2 separate regions of the Homo sapiens genome follow, and region 1 is linked to region 2. The links are contacts of gene promoters, found by promoter capture Hi-C in blood cells and fetal thymus (Javierre and others, 2016). All regions are on one chromosome and are shown on one strand. The core of a region is centred on a gene start or on the middle of the fragment in contact, and the rest is flanking DNA. Distances in the headings are between cores, read along the strand shown. Region 1 overlaps C1orf21 (chromosome 1 open reading frame 21). Region 2 holds the start of C1orf21 (chromosome 1 open reading frame 21).

The links. The method cuts DNA at HindIII sites, captures the fragments that hold promoters and counts their contacts. A CHiCAGO score of 5 or more calls a contact.
Region 1: a fragment that was not itself captured here is called in contact with the fragment with the promoter of C1orf21 in region 2 in 2 of 17 cell types (megakaryocytes and M1 macrophages); the score reaches 5.4 in megakaryocytes.

The regions. Positions count from the first base shown.
Region 1 is chr1:184,487,877-184,490,576 of GRCh38, reverse strand. All of the region lies in intron 2 of C1orf21 (chromosome 1 open reading frame 21), which reads right to left. Among named protein-coding and RNA genes, the nearest start is that of C1orf21, 100 kb to the right of the region's middle. The HindIII fragment of the contact is 6,704 bases long and covers 1-2,700 here.
Region 2 is chr1:184,385,682-184,388,381 of GRCh38, reverse strand. C1orf21 (chromosome 1 open reading frame 21) reads right to left here and starts at 1,353. Exons shown (of 6, transcript NM_030806.4): 1 at 1,014-1,353. It overlaps C1orf21-DT (C1orf21 divergent transcript), which reads left to right and starts at 1,678. Exons shown (of 1, transcript NR_172919.1): 1 at 1,678-2,629. RefSeq lists silencers at 1,318-1,577, 1,608-1,717, 1,808-1,867. The HindIII fragment of the contact is 4,352 bases long and covers 1-2,700 here.

The sequences.
Region 1 (2,700 bases), core at 170-2,669, 100 kb before region 2:
TTAATGTGAGATTCTCTAAAGTTATGTCTCCACCAGTTGGTTAAAGTTTCCCAGTCTCCCCTGCTATATTGTATGTGTGGTGTACCTCTAAGCCTTTGTTCTCACTGACTCTCAGCCTAAACCTCCTGCTCTGTCTCACTTAGTTCCTTTGGCTGGTATTCATATTTTAAGACTCAGCTGAGGCTTTAATCATCCTCTTTACAAGTCTTCCCCCACTCCTTGGAAAAAGAGACCTTTTGCCTTATCACCCTATGGTACTGACATTTTCTGTCAAGATGTCCATCTATTGCATCTTTACCAGTTCCTTAAAGGCAGGGACCAGGTTTAACCCGTCTTTACAGCCTCCGTGCCTAGCACAGCACCTAATTCATGCAAGGTAGTCAACGAGTGCTTCTTAGGATGAAGTGAAATGCTAGGTTTTAAATGAAACCAACAAGTGCCAGTCATCAGACTCCATCTGTATGCCTGGGCTAACATTTCTATCAGTCAGATCCCTGTTGCCCTGGGGCTATTTCCAGTGATAGTGCTTTCTCCTCTGGGATAGATTTCACCATTGCCCTGAAAACACAACTAAAGGCCTTCTGGAGATGGAAACATTTGAATTATATTTATCAAAATAAACAGTTGTAGTGAATGATAAATGTTAAACATAAAAGATTCAAGACACACAGAAAAATACAAAGAAGAAATTAAGAATCACCTGAAACTTCACAATAAAGAGACTGCCATCGTAAAAGTTTTGGTGAATGGCCTTTCAAACACTTCTTTTATGCACTCACACAGAATTTTACATATATTTTAAACAAGTAAAATTTACAAACAAGATATGCTGCATAAAATCCCTTTACTAATTTCACTTAATAATCTGTCACAAACCTTTTGCCATATCAATAAATATAGAATACCTTGATCTCTAATGGCTCTATTCCATGCATGTTTCATCAGTGAGAAAGACCCTTGAACACACAGGTTTGCACACTTGTCCAATTACGTTCCTAAGATAAATTCCTAGCACTGGGTCTCCTGGGGCAAAGGGCATGCTCATTTACATTTTTGATATATGTTACTATTTTGTGCCCCAGAAAAATTGTTCTGCGTTGACATTCTCCATTATAGCATGAGACAGATGCCACCTGTTCCTGCCCAATCTGAAGGGTAAAAAATGTTTTGTTTTGCTTTGGGTTTTTTTGCTGGTTTGTTTTTTTGGTTTATTTTATTACTGAGAAGTAGAATATCTTTCTGTACTCTTTTGTCCCTTTATATTTTTTCTCTTTTGAATTGCCTGGCCATGAACTTTGTCCATTTTTCAATTGGTATGTTAGTTCTTTCCTTACAGATTTTGAAGGGTCTTTTTCTATTAGTCATATTAACTTCAGTTGTATTGCAAATATTATTCTCAGTTTGACATTTGTCTTTTGACTTAGTTTATGGTAGTTTACTTTTTGCCAATCAAAATTTTAGATTTTATATAATCACAGTTTATCACAAACTTTTTCTTTTGGTATTGGGTTTTGTAGCATTAAGAGAAAGACATTTTGCAACCTAAGATTATAAATATACTCACTTGCGTTTTTTGTAGTACTTTTACAGTTTCTTTTCTTTTCTTTTTCTTGAGACAGAGTCTCGCTCTGTCGCCCAGGCTGGAGTGCAGTGGCATGATCTTGGCTCACTGCAACCTCCGCCTCCTGGGTTCAAGCAATTCTCCCGCCTCAGCCTCCCAAGTAGCTGGGACTACAGGCGCACGCTGCCACATCTGGCTAATTTTTTGTATTTTAGTAGAGACAGGATTTCACCGTGTTGCCCAGGCTGGTTGCGAACTCCTGAGCTCAGGCAACCTGCTCGCCTCGGCCTCCCAAAGTGCTGGGATTATAGGCGTGAGCCACTGTGCCCAGCCTACAGTTTCTTATTTGACAGTTAAATTTTTAGATTAATCTGAAAAATTCTAATATGAAGAGATAAATTGGGGGATTTCATTTTTAATATTATAATCACAAATAACAGAATATCTTCAAAGAATAAAATGTGAATTGAAATGGTACCCAATTAATTGGTATATCTTTTTATTTCAGCTGCTTATGGATGCATTTATCCCATTACAATCACTGGGGCATCATCTGTGTCTGCTGCCTCTAGCCCTCTCATGGTGCTTTACTCCTTACTTCTACCAACATCTCACTCTGCATGATAAACAAGACACACACACTCATGTATAGATTTATGGTTGATAAGCAAAAAATGTATTTGTTAACCTCTATGGTGGGATTTCTTTTAAACTACACTTTGAAAGAAATGAGGCATAATATTATATTCATCATTCCTGAATCATGCATGTCCTTTGGTCTTTTCATTTAAAAGACAAATATTCACGTATACATCTTACACAGTACAGAAACTGGTCTAGGTCAAACCAGAGAAAGAACAAACCATAGGAACACACATATCTTAAAATCTAAAAGAGATAAGTATTACATGGACAATTGATCATCTTTTAAGTTTAGAGAATTATACATCTACAAATAAACTGATGACGCATTCTCCTCCAGCGTAATCAGAGGAAACCAAGCAACCATTTTCAGAAATGCAAACTGCATAGGTCAGAGGTCTGCGCAACTGCAGGCTGCTAATATGATGATGAGCATACTAACTCAGTGCTTATCATGTGCCAAGTACTATGCTAAGATTTACAAATATTAATACATT
Region 2 (2,700 bases), core at 104-2,603:
AAACAAATTATTTCTCTCTCAAACTGCTTGCCGTCTCTCAGAATTAATGCGTGTTTATGTGTGCATATTTTTATCTTTGGCCATGCAACTCTTGGAGCAAAGAGGACCACCCCAAATTTTACCGACATGCCTGAGCCATTCAGAGCTTTAGAAGAGAAATGAACGAGTGCTGAGAGCCCTTAAGCCCAGGACTTCTCTCACACAAACAGTAAGTGGAAAGGAAAAAACAAAAACAAAAACAAAAACTAACCCTCCGTAGAGGGAGGGAGCAGGGTGGATGATAGGGAAAGGACATTAACCAGCAGACCAAAGGCAGCCGCGGCGGCGGCACTTCGCGAACTGCCTGCAGAGGAGAGTGAAATCTGTTTCGTGTACAATAACCAAGCACCCTCTGGCTGCCTCGCATGGGCACGAATAATAAATACACCGAGGTGGGCAAACAGATGCAACGAAACGAGCCACCCCAAAAAGGTCAAAACTTCAGAAATCCCGGGGGTCAAACCACCCACACAAACACATCAATCAGTCGGAGCGAGAGAAGGGACTTGGATACTTAGCAAAGGATCCTAAATTGTGTTTTTCCTTTCAAGCTCTGGCTTGCAAAGTACGGTGGCTACATGCAAAGCTAGAGGAGAGCAGGAAGGCTGAGGGCGGCAGGGTGCGGGTGGGAAGGGAGGGGTGTCTAACACCAGCCACCCAGGCCTCGATGTGACGAAAGTCGTCAGCAGCCCCGACCACATCCCAGCCCCTCCGCCCAGGCCGGCAGACGCCCCTCGCGGCTCCCCCACCCCAGCTTCCGTCCCTGGCAGCAACCCCGCCAGCCCCGCACCAGCAGCAGCCCCGGCCCGGGCCCCGCGCAGGCAGCGCCACGACCGCGGCTCCCATCCCTTCCGTGCGGCAGACACCCCGCAGGCCTCCCTCCCTGCCCACCCGGGGATGCCCGGGTAGCCGAGCCGGGGCGGGCTGCACCGCCAGCTCCCCCCGCCCCAGAGCAGGCAATGGCTCACACTTACCTTGGGCGTTCGCGGGGGGGCTGAAGGTGGCAAGCCTCCCGCCCCCCGCCCCTGTCCTCCTCGTCTTTTTTCTTCCTCCCTCCTCCTCTTCTTCCTCCTCCTCCCCACAGTGTGTCCGGGGCTCCCCCTCCTCCCCGCCGCTTGGAGTAAGAACCCAAAACCCCGAAGCCGGGCCCGCGTGCAAGCGTGCGGGAGGCGGCGGCGCGCGGCCAGCTCTCCAGTAACTGAGCGCGGCGCGCAGCTCCCAACTAAAGTGTGAAAGAAGCAGCGGCCGCGGCGGCCGCGGCACGGAACGTCCCCCCGGGAGTGGGCAGGGAGCGAGCGGGAGCTTGCGAGGAGCGAGCGAGGGAGGGGAGCTCCTCGCTCAGTCACTCACTCGAGGGGCGGGGGCAGCAGACACTCCCCCACCGCCGGCCCCTCCCCGAGCCTAGCTCCCGCGCGCGCCTGGCTCTCCTCCCCGGGGCGGGGCCTGCGGAGGCCGCCGGGGCGCAGCGCGCTGGGGAGCGGGTTGGGGGCTGCTAGGGCTGCGGGGCGGGAAGGAGGCGGCAGTGTGTGTGTGTGTGTGTGTGTGTGTGTGTGGGCAGGTGTGTGTGTGTGTGTACGTGTGTGCGCGCGCGCCCTGCAGCGGCCGGCCAGCCGGAGGGAAGACCCCGGCGGGAAGACTGCGTCCCGTCCGGCCTTCCCGGGCCTGTCACTTGGGCGGTGGCGTGGGAGCGGCGAGGCTGCTCGGGGGGCAGCCGGGTGGGCCCAGCTCTAGGGGAGATTCGGGTCAGCCCCTGAGCCCAGCCTCCCGGCTGTGCCTGCTGGAAGCAGACGGAGGGAAGGCCGGGCGTCTTTGGCCCACCGCGCGGCCGCTCCCCTCCCGGGCCAGGCTGAACGGGCGGGCGCAGCCCAGAGGCCCGGGCTCTGCCACCGATCCGCCTCCATACTGACCCGAGCTGCGGCGCCTGCAAGATTAATGAAGCATCCGCGATTCGGTAGAGGCGGCACGGGGAGGAAAGACACAAGATCGTGCTGCCCCCCTCTCCCCACCCTTCTCAGCCTCCTAGGACCTAAAGGCGTAGGCTGCGTCTGCTGGGCGCGTCCGGAGTGGTCCAGAGAGATCGCCATCCACCACTGCATCCGTCCAGTTCTTTGTGGACCCTCACAGAAGCTCAATCAATTTCCCACCCTCTGGAAAAGGGTATTTTTCTCTTCCCTGGCATATTGGGTGTTTCTTGTGTGCACCTAATTGATCTTTTTCCATTGATAGCCTTTGGATGTCTTTTGTGCGGCTTCCCCGCGCTTCACTGCTCCCTCATTGCCTTAGACACGCGAGGAATGTCAGGCCCCCAGAGTGAGAACACCCAAGAAAACAATAGGGGCAAAAGATCCTCCCTGGGCCTCGCGGATTATGCACAAACCAGATCATTTCCCACATTCGGCCAGGGTGAAGATGGAAAATGGAAAAGAACGCCATCAGAGTGGTGACACTGACGAGAAAAGCCAATTCATAATTTAGTTTAATGAAATGAGTTAGTAATCAACCACTAATGTCTAGGAAATTGGCCTTTTTTGAAAACTGGTTTTCCCTTTCTCCACCCCTTTTTTTTTCAAATTAAAAGACTAGTATCCCACTGTTGTTGTTTTAATTTTTATTGTTTTCAGGGATGGGGTCTGCTGCCAAGGCTGGATTCGAACTCCTGAA